3 separate regions of the Homo sapiens genome follow, and all the other regions are linked to region 1. Evidence: promoter capture Hi-C in 16 types of primary human blood cells and fetal thymus (Javierre and others, 2016). All regions are on one chromosome and are shown on one strand. The core of a region is centred on a gene start or on the middle of the fragment in contact, and the rest is flanking DNA. Distances in the headings are between cores, read along the strand shown.

Region 1 (4,729 bases), core at 575-3,074:
ATCATATCCCCTGTGACCTGTGTACACATCCAGATGGCCAGTTCCTGCCTTAACTGATGACATTCCACCACAAAAGAAATGAAAATAGCCTGTTCCTGCCTTAACTGATGGCATTATCTTGTGAAATTCCTTCTCCTGGCTCATCCTGGCTCAAAAGCTCCCCTACTGAGCACCTTGTGACCCCCCCACTCCTGCCTGCCAGAGAACAACCCCCCTTTTTCCTTTACTTACCCAAATCCCATAAAACGGCCCCACCCCTATCTCCTTTCGCTGACTCTCTTCTCAGACTCAGCCCACCTGCACCCAGGTGAAATAAACAGCTTTATTGCTCACACAAAGCCTGTTTGGTGGTCTCTTCACACAGATGCAAGTGAAAGAAGGAGCCTGCCTGCAACCTTCCAGGTCAGTTACCTCTTTGCAAGCTCTCCAGCCCTGCCATAAAATGAAACCATTTGCAATAGTTGCTACATCATAGCTTGCTCGGCATCTGCTTTCCTGAGCTCGCTCCAATTGTTCCCTTCATGGGGTCAGGTGAAGTTCGTGTTGCATAGGGACTAGGATCTAGGTATGGTTTCCATCTCACTGGGGCAGCAGGCAGATGCTGAGCGCAGAGGACATGGGTGGTGGCTACACAGCTGCAGAGCAGCCATGACATGCTCTTGGAAACAAAAATAATTGAACACTGAAGTATGTGTAAAAGTACTTTTCCCCTTTGAATCAAGAATATGATCATGAACCTTAGCAAAACAAAGCAATGGAGCTGACTCAGTCTTCTAAACATTGGCCCTGAACCTGAACCTACTATTAAATTGGGCTAAAAGGTTTACAGAGCAAGTGGATTCATTAAAACTGTTTTTTGCTATATTCTCTGTTGTGGCTTTGTCCCAGAGATTTCCAATGCTTCCAGCAGCTTTGGAGTTAGTAACTCTGATATGTTTGCATCTGACTTCTGACCTAAACTTTAGTGTTATTTTCAGCTGTTCTTTGACAGGGAATCCAACAGCTGCTGTTTAATACCACAGACAACTTGTGACACAGGCTGAGTTTCTAGCAATAGGATTAATCTACCAATGTGGGGCACTGATTTGAAGCTGGCTATAATTTTCCTGAACAGGAGGTGGGGGTAGGGAATAAAAAGCCTGAAGCACAGTACTTTCCTTTTTGTTTTTGTTTTTAATTGCAGCAAAATATATGTCTTAATAACTTTTAACCACACAGAAAACATTTTCTTGCTGCAATTAAAAGGTAACAGCAAAGTATTTTGCTTTCTCATGGTATTAATAACTGAACTTGAAAACCTTGTCCAATGGAGCAGAATAGTCACAAAGAAAATCTGAAATGATAGGCACCTATTTATAAATGCTGGTTGAAATATTTTTTAAAAATTCCTAAGAAATCTGAGGCTCTGAGAAAATGTGGCTATTCCATCTAAACTTCATTTAGCAAAGAACAGTAAGTTTTAGAAAAGCAGATTAATCTAAAAATGTGTTTTAAGCAATTTGTGACTTAACCCCAAGACAAATACCAAAACTTTTTTAAAGTACACTTTGGTAGTTCTCTTTGCATCAGAGAGATTTCAAAAATCTTGAAAAGATTGATAACCAGGTCAAAGACTTACTTGTTTCAAAGTCCATGGTTACAATGGCATAGTTTCGGTGGCAAAACTAATTTGGGTTGTCAGGATGTAATTTTTTTTTCCATTTGTTATCAAACATCAGCTGATAAGGAAAGAGCTTGAAGCTGTCCTCCACATTTAAGATAACAGCAAAAATAACAGGCACTTAGTGTCACCATACTAGGGGCGTGGCAATTCTCTCTCGTTCGCTCCTTTCTCTCTCACGATAAACTCAATGGGGTTGTCTATTTTTAACCTCCTGTTCTTTCCTTTTGGCAGAGTAATCAGTGTGAGCTGAGCTCTTTCCCTGAATGAATCCAAGTAACCCTGGCCTTCTGAAATGACCAGCAGACACACAACTGTCCAGAGGCTGCCCAAAGTATAAACTCTGGTTCTAAAGTACCATGTCCAGCCAAGGAAGTCCTAGTGTTGCGCTTTCTACGACGACAGTCAGTTCAGTTGCTGTGCAGGCTGGGGACTCCAAAATCGTTATAGCTGTCATAAAGGTAAGCTAACAACTTCCTTTTTTCTGTGCGGCTGTGGGCTTCTAGCTGTGTGTTGAAAACCCTAAAGAACATTCCATGCAATCGGCAGGACACAGCATAGAGAAGACAACGCAGCAAGCACTCTTACTGCTTTCTAAAATGGGCTACTAAGAGAAACCTCTACAAGTTTCAGCAGTTACCAGAGATTCTCTTTCCTTTCAGTCAGCCAGAAAGCATCTATAGCAGCTTGATTTAAAAAAAAAAAAAAAAAGAAAAGAAAGAAAAATAAAGAAAAGAAAACCTCTAGCATATACTGTCAATTTGGTCTTTAAAAGCAAGGCATTGGTAACTGGAAGTTCATGATTGCCTGACTAAAGAGTCCAATGGACCTGTGGAATGCTTGTGATTTTTGAGAGTGGATGTGATGGAGGTGGGAGGAGGCAGGTCCCGACAGACAGGGGGAGGGCACTGCTTTAAGCACGATGGAACTCAGAAAACACCAAGTAAAGGGCTCCGACATGTGCCCTTTGCCACACTGGTTTTGACATGGTAAAGAAACTACTAAATCCTTGTCCAGTAACGAAGACCATGCAAGGAAAGGTACAAAAGCTTTGTGTCAAATTTGCTCTTAACAGCAGGAAGTAGAAGCCACTTAGGGTTTACAATTACTGCATGTTTTATGACAACCCATTTGCCCATTTGCAAAGATGACCACACATCTTTAGGCTGAAGAAGAACTCCATGATTTTATTCTCCATGGAAATGCCCTGTAAAAAAAAGCTTTCAAGCACTAGGCTTGGGCTTTAGATGATATTCCACCTAAATAATTCAGTGTTTAATGAAGGGAAAGCTGGCAAACAAGCTGATGGTCACAAACCAGTTACTTTCAGGTCCCCACCAGGTTTAATTGAATGACTTTTCTGGCCTTTTGTTAGAGCATGGACAGCAAGCCATGTTTACTTTAACTTAATTGCTGTGAATTTTATGGTAATGTGAAAATTCATACCAGGAAAAGAGCACTTGATACTGAGCAAAACAGTTCACTATAGAAGGACAGAATGGAAAGTATTCCTGCCGAGGTGGATTTTCTGGTGTTGTGAGACTTCTCTCCCACAGGAACCAGGCCTCTGCTGACTTCCTCACCCTCCCATCTTTTCAGAGTCCCAGAGAGGAGATGAAAAGAAGCCTGATGCAGAAGTAGGGCAAACAGATCATTTGCACGGGATTAATGATACTTTGAGTTAACTGCAGATTTCAGCAATGAGGGAAAAGAGGCAAACTCACTATTTTTCAAAAAGTTAACTTTCCATTTCCTCAAATATGAACATTCTTGGAGCAGGATGAGGAATAATATTAGAGGATAAATTACAGAAGAATCAGAGGTAGATTGAACACAAAAAAATTACACTGGAAATTACACTGGAAAATTACACTGGAAACTCTTATTTTAACTGAATTGTGTTTCTAAGAATGTTCCCCCACTACCCTCTCCTCAGCCCTCTTACCTTACTGCCATCTCCATACAAAATACACCCCAAGCAATTCAGAGTATAAAGTCCACCTTAATGGAATGGAAGTGCCTGTGTGTGATTTATAGTGACTGTCCAAACTGTCTCAGGGGACTGAATATATTCTAAAATAGAAATACATTTTTCTAATTTCTCTTTAGTAATTCAGGTATCTACATGCGTATGCGTGTTAGTGGTTCATTTTGCTTAATGAGTTGTTGCTTCTTAGAAAAGCAATTCCTCAGGAAATGCAATGACAAATTATATCTTAGAGCAGTGTAAATCTTGTGTGGAAAGCAAGTTGACTGTGCTCAAATGGCAGTTGTCACAGGCATCTAATTTTGTTAATATTTTCCTACACGCTTTAATGAATATTCAACAACTAAGGTTGGAAAACAGCATATTTTACCTTTGAAATAAGATAAAAATCAATTTCTTCATCTGATATTTATTATTTTCAGCTAAACCAGCAAGGCCAATGTAAAGACACTAATCAGCCTAAATTGCATTTACAAGAACTTTCCCCATGGTGAAATTTGCATCCTACCTGCCCAAGTGGAATTTCACTATTTTTATTGAGTTCAGTTTTGTGAGTGAGAGAGGATACAGTTGTGTAAATTATTCTGTAACTTTATAATATTCAATAATACGTAATCCATTGTATGTTTTCCTCACTTGGGAATTTTTAACTCAAATCCAATATGCCAAGAGAGAATAATTTATGCTAAGAATAAAAAATAAAAGACAGGGCATGGATTTATATTAGATCTGTTGTGTTTCAATTTAAGTAAACCCCATCTCTATGGAAAGAATGGAAAAAAATAGAAAATAGAAAAAAGTGTTTACAGTATAACTGGAAATTTAAACGATATATTAAAAATGAGAAGGGTGAAGAGGAAGGAACAAGAGGAACTAAAAGTGCATTTTATTTAATTTTTATTTTTAGTGTGGCAAATGGGTACAACTTCAACTGGCTGAATCACAGCCCAATCTTCTAGAAATTGGCAGCAGTCAAGATGAAACCAAAAAACTTCTTCATGATCATGAACTTCTTTTGGCCAAGCTCAAGGTAAGATACTAAGATGTGAAGCAGAAACAAAATTAAAGAGACATAAAAAACT
Region 2 (4,592 bases), core at 2,053-4,552, 80 kb before region 1:
GCTTATAGTAAACATTATTCCAGATCTGGACTGGGAGAATTATTAATATATGATGGAAGGCATAACTTGGGGTGGGGATCCTTGAGTTTAGTGACTCATAATGGGCATAGTCCTGTGGGGTATCATGTTTTGATGCCAGAGTGTCTCCCATATCTGCCCCATACTGATCTCATCTCCTTATACCTGCTTGAGGGACTCAGCTGAAGAACTCCTGATGCTGTCATCCTGGCAAACTATAGTTCCCACCCTATATCCTTACTAGCAGACTGGTGCCAGTGGGGCCTTTTGTGGGTCTGAATGTTGGTTGATCCTAAGAAGAGTCCAAGAGGGTATTTATTACATTAGCATAATTCTAATTAGTTTTTAATTTTATTTTTGAAGTGATAAAGTGGTATATTAACTTTATAGTAGTTAATTCAGTCAGTTTTTTCAATGCTTGGGAAGAACATTAGACTATGAGTTAGAACATATGGCTGTTAGTCCAGTTTTTCAATAATGGATTATGTTATCTTGGGCAAGTCACTTAATCTGTTTGAAACTCAGTTTTCTTAAATGTTAGTTAAGAACTTTGACTGATATCATTTCTGATGTTTCTTCCAACTCTAAATCTTATGATTCTCTGATTCTCTTTTCGTAAGTTAATTTTTAATCCTCTTTTATAGAAGCATTCCAGATTTCTTTTAGCCTGAAAGATAATCAGATAGCTGAAAGCTTGTGATGCTACAGTGTACATTCTTCCACATTTAAGTTTTGAAAATGTTGTCACATTATAGCTGTGTAGTTCCAAAAGAAACATTTACTGCCTATGTGATAGAATGTAAATAATTTACATTAAAAATAATTGGGGAACTTTGGGAGGGGAAAAATAAGTTAGAATGAAAGTTTGAAAAGTTTCTGATTCTTTAAAAAATGTTATCTCAACTTTTGTTTATAGGTGGTGAACTGGCTAGAAGGGCCTGGATCAGAACAACTAAGAGCCCAGTGGGGCATTGGAGACTCCATTAGGGCCTCCCAGGCCCTACAGCAGAAACACGAAGAGATTGAGAGCCAGCACAGTGTGAGAGGCTTTTTCCTCTGCAAGTTACAATGATATTATGAACGTGGGTAATTAGTAGCATATGTGGTACTGAGTGATAAGTTGCTGCAAACTTTGGTATGGGGCATGAAGTACAGTTTGTTAAGTGCCTAGAGGTCATAAAGTACATTTTGATTACTTAGTACATGTTAATTAGAAGGTTGTTTTTGGTTTTGTCTCTAATGCAGTTTAATTATATTTTTATAGAAGCACAATTTGCATGAAATTTTAAAAGCTACAGTGACAGAAAAAAGAGTGATAATACAAAAATAGAGCTTTCATCTGTAGTCTCTGTGACAGAAACTTCTGTTTTCAAGTCCCCCTCACCCCCACTTTATTGGGAGTATATAGTACAATTAAATGCCTGAGAGTGATAGCAGAATTGCTGCATTAAACACAACTGATGGAGAGTAAGTCCAGAGGGTGCAGAATATTTTTCCATTCTCTGAGCATTTAGGGGTCCCTTTTGTATTTGTGAAAGGGGTAATCAGACAAATCACAGGTATAAAATTGGGAAATAAATAGATTCTTAAGCAGATTATAGATAATAATTGTTAAAGATAATTTAAAATTTAACAACTTGTTATGTGAAAGAAGCTGGTGTTCGTTAATCTCCTGCTCTGTTACAGTTAATTCTTCATTACTGAGAAAGAGATCATCCAGTTTGTGGACGGGGTAGCTCACCCCCCTCTCCCTAAGGTCATATTACTTTGGTAATTTAAAATAGATTAAATACAAAATTGGAAAAATAAAATTTGAATCCATTAATTCCCTTCTCCTTAGGTTGTCTTAAAAAAGGTGGTCAAAATGTTAAACTCTGGACCCAGATGAGCATTAAGTACCGTCGGAACATTAATTTCTGCAACGTTTCTTCTTTCCTCTAATTATGTTGGATAGTATTAGGAAATGTCCATTTTTAACTAAACAAGATTAAAGAATAAGTAATATGGTTTGCTTGGGAATAAATTTGAATGAATGAGTAAATCTCATCTTTACTAGAATTTAACAATATCTGATTCTTATTTTTCTTCTAAATGTATTCCATTTTGCTTAGTTTCCTCATATTGCTTTCTTTGTAATGTTCTGTAAATCAGGTATAGCAATTACTGGTATTGGCAGAAAATCTACTACTATACCCTAAAGCAGTTGTAATCTAGCTGAAGGAATAATAAGAGATATTACAAGATTTGGAATTGTCTAAAGGCACTACATATATATTCCTTGCAATTTTTCTAATTAGTACTTGTAAAAAACTTGAAAATGAAATCTCATAATTGAAAATCGATTTATTTTATGCATTTCACAGGTTCCAACATAATGGTTCTTCCTTTTATACTAAAATAATCATATTACAAACCCTGTTCCTGAGGATATAATCTTTTAATTCTCTTGGTACTTTTAAAATAATGTTTTGATTTTTTTTTTAACATGGATTGTGATTTGTTTGAACCTGGTAGACTGTTCTAGAACATGTTACTATAGTTAGAGTCTACAATTTGTTCCTCTCTTTAGTTCCTAAAAAACTGTATTTACTCTAGAACATTCTAGACTTCACCTAAGGGGATTTAGTTATGAAAGTATTCCAAAAGTTCTTTTTAGGAAGGACACATGGCACATGAGGATTCTAAAGACAGGATTTATCTATATTTTATTATTTTTTTTAAATGCCAAGATAAATAATTACAGTTAGAAATTGGATTGTATACATACTGTACTGTACTCTAAGTTTACAAAAAGACTTCAAAAGCAAATTTCATATTGCGTATAGTATGGATGAAATTGCAGATGATGTACATAGAAATTGCTATGTTCAGATGTTGGTTTTGTATTTTTAATATATTTATAAGGTTTTCAAAATCAGCTTAAAGAAACATCGCTTAAGGGTGGCCCTTCCCATGTGCTTAAGCTTACTTATAATGTGGAACCAATATATAAAACTTTTGAATTGCAAAATACCTTATAGATTATTCTAATATCTTCATCTTACTTTATAGATGAAAAAACTGGGAAGCTACGTTTTTTGATCAGTGAATAGTTGGACTATTGTTAAGACACAGATCTCTTGATACCCAGGGGGGATCCTTTCTCTAGCTGTCTCTTAGAGAAAGCTACTAAATTTTACAGATATGGTTAAGCTACAGTAGTTTTTCATTCTTGTACTTTTAATACTTAGGAATGTACATATACATTGACATCTGCATTTATAGACATGACCTAAAGAAACATTGATGGCTATCAAGAGATTTTATTTCCTTAAATCATGTGTGATATTTGGGTTTTGTTTCAGAATTGGGAGGTAGGAACAGATTGAATGGATGGGAGTGTATGTGAAACAGAATTACCCATGAATTGATCATTATTGAAGCTGGATAGGAAGGAGTTCATTACACTATTCTTCCCACTTTTGACATATTTTTAAAAAGCCAGTTGTGCTGTTTTAGCCAATAGGTGGCACTGCATTGTCACCCTGAGAATAGGTTGGTTGATGCTGGATGAATATTTTAGCTTATGATGTTTAAGATATTCTAATATTTTATTAAAAGCTTTCTTTTCTCTCTGTAACTAAGAGTTAACAGATTAAAGCATTATTGGAATTGTTCAAGTCTTGTGAAAGTATGACTAATTTCTGGCATTGACAGCTGTTAACGGTAGAATTTGAGAAAACTTTTAACATACAATCTTGCATTACCAGCTCAATGTCATATATTAAATTTTATGTCATATATTAAATTTTAGAGTCCATATAAAAGCATAATGCAGAAATAAAGCTAAAAACCCCAAATTTGTTAGGATATTAAGTTTTAATACATAGAAAAATGAAATTTCTGCCAACCTGTAGTTCTAGTTCAAGGATTGGTAATTAGAAGTTAACTTGGTTTTTTAATAGAACACAACAAAAAAAATAAGGTACATGAAAATGGTTATAGTAACTGACAATAAATTTAAAAGCAGTTTAGTTCAAAAATCTAATTTTATGTTTTGGGTTGAAGAAAGTGTGTGGTAGGAAAAGCGTGTGTGATAGGAACATCGAGGAGCATAAATATCTGAAACTACTTCAGAATTTTGTCACTATCCCACCATCTCATAGTGCTGAGTTCTGGTCTACAAAGAAACCACTTTCTCTGGTGCATTATGCAGAACAGGTCTACCTGGCGAATCAAGACTCATTTCTCCTAATGTGTAGTCTGAGTATAATCACCTTTTTAACCCGAGTTGGCACTGTTTCCTTCTGCCTACATATGGATTCACATTTCATGGTATAAAGTATAAATATCCATCATTTCACCAAGTATGCGTCACTGCCAACATGATTGCATTGTCAATCCTGACTGCTTGTGTCCTAAATGTGAACCTTCAAGCCCTTTTCTTACCATCTCAATCCAAATCCCATATATTGGTGTTTTTTTATTTTGCTATAAAATAATCATTTTCTACACAGTTAAATATACATAAGAGACAGACCGGAGAATGGCTGTAAGTGAACAAAATACACCTAAGGTTCTAGGCAGTCTACATT
Region 3 (4,853 bases), core at 2,211-4,710, 75 kb after region 1:
TAAGCTTTACTGGGCTTGTTTCTCACAACCTTTATTCTTGATCACTCTTCAGGGTGTGTTCTTATTACTTTTCTTATTTTTTTTGGAACTGTTAGATTAACATAATATTCTATACCCCTTGGGAATGTAGACATGTGTCTTTGACAGATGTCAGCAGTGTTTGGACAATGTTTAAATGTGAACGCCCTTAGCCTGGCCATGCTTCCTGGCTCACCTCAATCCTGATCGCTCCTTCCTTCCTGTTTGATACACCTTCTTGCATAACAGTTTGTGTTTATAAATTCTGTTTCCTAGACCACATGCAATTTCTACTATCCAAGTGTTTAAAATGTGATCCTGTGTTCTTACATTAAGTTAACACCCTGCCTTATGCCTTTTTCTTTTGTACTTAGGCTTTGGAAGATCGGGTATGGGAACTCTTGCAGGAAGCAGACAAGACAGCTGAAGAGAACAAGGATCAGAGTCAGGTCTATGATGCCATGGCCGAGACTCTGGGTGAAGCATGGGCAGCTCTGGTGTCCATGCTTGAAAGAAGAACAGAGCTCCTTAGGTTGACTTCTGAATTTTTTGAAAATGCCTTAGAGGTTTGTACTTTAAAAAACTTCTCCCTTCCCCACATCAGAGCAAATGAATAGCACTCCTGAAAATGTTTATTTTTTCACAAATAGACATTGCAAGCAGTTAAAAAAATGGCAGAATAACCAAAACATACATACACAATATATTTAATTTTTGATTGTCAAAAAACAAAATTATTACTATTTTAAGAGTAGATCTTCAAACAAAAACAAAGTACAGTTAAATAACTAAAATTTGGTAAAATATTAAGTAATAATGGGAACACTCATAAGTCATTACGATTATTTCCCTCTATAGAAGGTAGTAATACAGTTACTAAATCAAACAATTACCTGATGGTAGGATTACTAAGAAATGCTGGTCTAGAGTGTGGTTCTTGGCTAAAAGTTGGAGAATAAAATTTCCTTTTGCTGCCTATGTTTTAAAAAGGCAATTATAGAATATTCCATAGGATATTTGATTCATAAATATAGCATTTTATAAGTACTTTCCTAAGGCGTATAGTTGATTTTCCATAGTTTGAACACCTTACAATACAAGAGAAGGAAAAAGTCCTCCTAGACCTAAGAAGGTCATGTCTCCATGTGATTTTTCTCGAATTCTACAATTTTTTGAGGTTTCTAATTTCAAAATATGAGAGTTCAAAGAACATTATCAAAAGAGGTGTTATATTTGGTATAAGACAGTTATTGGAAATTTCACTTTTAACTTCTGTGTCAGGTGGCAGCCCATTCATTTTGATGTAAGAGCACTGCTTCATTATGATAAAGCATTAGCTTTGAAAAATATGACATTTTAAACTAGAAATTCAGGACTTAAATCCAAAATAATGAAGGAAAGAAGATTAGTAATAGAAACTAAAAATTGGAGTAGGCAATCTCATGCATCATGAACTTGTTTAAAAGCAAAAGGGAGGAATAAAAACCTTATTATAACTTTCAAGGCTTGTTTTTCACAATTTGAACACCGAAGTTTAACTCATTTCAGAGACCATCTTGGAAAAAGTTTCATACACCATCTTTCTTCCCTGAAAAGAAATGAAACAGCTGAAATACACCTACAGAGGCCAAATTATAGCTATATCTGATTCACTCTATCTTAGTAAGTAGGGTATAGGTGTCAACTGTCCTTGAAACTCAGCTCTTTTGAGCCCAGGAAATTTTCTTTTTTTCTAGCATTGGAGCAATATTTGTTTCTCACTGTGTTTTAGTGTTAATGTAGCTTATTTTCTCCATGATGAGTAAATTCCTTTCAGATATAACATGAAGTAAAAGGAAATAGTAGGCCAAACCATAATTAAGCCCAACACTCTTATACTTACACTTGCGTGAGCTTTTATTGAATCTAGTGAAAAGACTAATTATTTTTTGTATTATCCTGTTTCCAATTTTGTGGATCACTTCATACTAAACTGAAGACAAACTCCTATATAATCCTTATGTCCCCTTTGTATGCCAAAGCCATTTTTATTAGTGATATAAGAGAGTGGAGAAAGGAAAATACTGATAAAAGTAAACAGAACTTTAGGAAAACTTTTTCTGAGTAAAGCATTGTTTGCTTATTGGTTTATTTATTTTTAATTTTATAACAAGCTGAAATATAAATATAAGTTAAACAGTGACCCTGGAACTTTTTCTAATGTTCTGCAGGTAACAAACAAACTACCTGCTAGGAATTTTCTTTTCTTTTTGAAGATTCTCTTTAAATAATATTTTAAAAATCAGTTATTAGAAATTGAATTAGAGATGTAAATGATGTGGATATGACCCCCTTATTGAATTATGTGCATGTAGGAGTTTTTGAGAAATGAAAAATTACTAATAATTGCATGGCTGATCATTATTACAAGATTATTTCAGGCTCACAGACATAACTGTCAGTTGGGTTATTCTCACCTCGAACACTGTGCTATAATTTAGGAACACTGCCCCTGATTGGCAGCAGCAGATGTCCATCAGGTTGTTCTAATAGGATGACAGAGGCCTTCCTTGCATTTCCAAAACATGTCCCATGCTCTTCAGTCTCTCTCTCATCATTCTGTTTCACTTATAATTGGATTTCATATGGCTGTTGTAATAAACTACAGTCGATTGTGTTAATCAAATAGTTACATTAAAATATTAAGAATCCCCAAATTCAAAAATGATAGTTTGGAGAAGACTTGAAACAGAAGATAAGTACCGTGGTAAGCTTCTATGTCTGATACTTTTCCTTAATTAGTTTATTCTAAACCCAATCCAAAGGTGGATATATTAAAATGCTCATATAAATTGTGATAATTACTGTTGAATCTTAGTGCTAAAACAAGCCAACTATTTGTCTACCACTATAGACATACTGTGACAGGATAATCAAATATATTTTGCCATTCTAAAATTTGTTTCTAAGATTATTTTCCTGAGCATTTTAACATCACGTTAATCATCTCTCTCAATCTCCCACTGCCTCTATGGAGAAAAAGAAAAAAGACAGACCAGTTATATTCCTCACCATTTAGAGTGTGAAATTACTATGCATTTTCCTTGAAACAGGGAATAAATTTCTCACTTGTCATTCTTGCTCCATCTAATCTCATTTTATTTATAGATGTAATGCATACAAATTATTGATAAAAATGCAAACAGAATTACAAATTATAGATTTAAATATTAAAATTTTACCTCCTCTCACTCATCCTTAATTTCATTTCTTCTCATTAAGTCACCATTTGGTGTGTATTTTTTGAGACCAATTTCTATACAAATATATATTTTTTTGCTTTGTATAAAATATTGGATTAGACTATGTATTATTCAGAAACTTGCATATTTCACTGCTAAGTTCAATTTTAGAGGGAAAAAATAACTATACTTCTACCTTCTCTCTAAGTGAGTTCCTAAGCTACATTTACTTGTAAATGTATAGACTGCTTTTTAGTTAACCTTTTCTTGGTTTCCCTTAGCTAACTTTCTGCTTATTCTTAACTAAGTGCCTTAGAATGTTGAAAGTGACTGTATACATAGGACACTATAATTTTGGTTGAAAAATTTAATAGGCATTTGGACAGTAAACAGGTTGGTTTATTTCAGCCTATATAATTAGGTATGAAAGGAGAAGAAAGTTCTTACCAATGACACTTTGTAAATTGACCACATGCAAACACACACCCTCATGCAAACACTGTAAGCCAAAACACACACAAACACATACAAACATATGCACTTGCATAATCACACATCCTCAGTTGGGCTACTAATTTATGAAAAACATCTCCAGGTAACTAACAATGGCACGTTAATTTTTATACAAATGTCAAATGTCTTTCCTCTGTATTTCTATTGTAGTTTGCTATTAAAATAGACCAAGCTGAAGATTTCCTCCAGAATACTCATGAGTTTGAGAGTGCTGAGTCCTTAAAATCACTTCTTCAGCTTCATGAACATCATACTAAAGGCAAGAAATATGTTTATTTCTCACAGAAGTGTTTAGAGGTTTTAAAAGATGTTAATGTGAGAATGCTTATGTATGATAGTGTATTTTAAATTGATCTATTTATGTTTACCTCAGCTTGTTCCAAGAAAAGTTAAAGCTTCATTTTTAATCATCTTCTGAAAGAAAGAACTAGTTGTGAATATTCTGAGAGGATGGTAGAGGATATGCCTCCAGGAGATTCTGTTATTTGGTGTGCTAGAGTTTAGCTCCTGAGGACAGAGGCCATTTCTACCTTGTTCATCCCTTTACCCTTAGCATCTAGCAAGGTTCCTGCCACATGGTAGATCCTAAAGAAATTTTCTTAGTTGAATAAATCATTGAATTCAGTGAATGTTCCTTCTAAGGGTCAATAAATGAAGGTAATTCTTTAAAAAGCAGGTCTGAATCAGCAAAATTCCTCTTTCACCATTGCAGTTAAAAAAATGGAACAGTGAATTTTTCCAGATGAAAATCTAATAAAACACTCTACAAAAAGATTTTCAGTTCCCTCTGAACAACTAGAAAGATAGTCTAGTTGTTAACCAACAATTTGTATGCCAAGCCTTTCTACAAGAATTTGGTGTGGGCCAGGAGTGGAGTAGGGAAACGCATTTGTGGAAAAGTAGTAGTTACCTGTCATCTTTTGCAATGGAAGGAGGTTAGATAAATTGATAGAAACAACCGTTTCTTTTCTGCCTAATATGTCTTCTAATTTTACTGCCAAATAGAATAGGGTCTGGATAGAAAGGTTTCTTGAATTCATTTGTCACAGTTCTAACTTGACTTCTAGCTCCACCAGCCTGTCATTCTGGATAGGACCAAAA

Evidence for each region. Contacts are between HindIII fragments. The CHiCAGO score rates a contact against its expected background, and 5 or more counts as called.
Region 2: a fragment that was not itself captured here is called in contact with the fragment with the promoter of CCDC141 in region 1 in 1 of 17 cell types (non-activated CD4 T cells); the score reaches 5.0 in non-activated CD4 T cells.
Region 3: a contact is called between a fragment that was not itself captured here and the fragment with the promoter of CCDC141 in region 1, in 3 of 17 cell types (non-activated CD4 T cells, naive CD4 T cells and total CD4 T cells). The highest score is 5.9, in non-activated CD4 T cells.

The regions. Positions count from the first base shown.
Region 1 is chr2:179,047,232-179,051,960 of GRCh38, reverse strand. It overlaps CCDC141 (coiled-coil domain containing 141), which reads left to right and starts at 1,824. Exons shown (of 24, transcript NM_173648.4): 1 at 1,824-2,121; 2 at 4,555-4,677. The coding sequence starts at 2,020. RefSeq lists enhancers at 1,748-1,827, 1,838-2,087, 2,278-2,327. The HindIII fragment of the contact is 6,980 bases long and covers 1-2,711 here.
Region 2 is chr2:179,128,769-179,133,360 of GRCh38, reverse strand. SESTD1 (SEC14 and spectrin domain containing 1) reads left to right here. Exons shown (of 18, transcript NM_178123.5): 10 at 935-1,057. Among named protein-coding and RNA genes, the nearest start is that of CCDC141, 81 kb to the right of the region's middle. The HindIII fragment of the contact is 637 bases long and covers 2,984-3,620 here.
Region 3 is chr2:178,974,215-178,979,067 of GRCh38, reverse strand. It overlaps CCDC141 (coiled-coil domain containing 141), which reads left to right. Exons shown (of 24, transcript NM_173648.4): 3 at 393-584; 4 at 3,903-4,011. Among named protein-coding and RNA genes, the nearest start is that of CCDC141, 73 kb to the left of the region's middle. The HindIII fragment of the contact is 1,378 bases long and covers 2,772-4,149 here.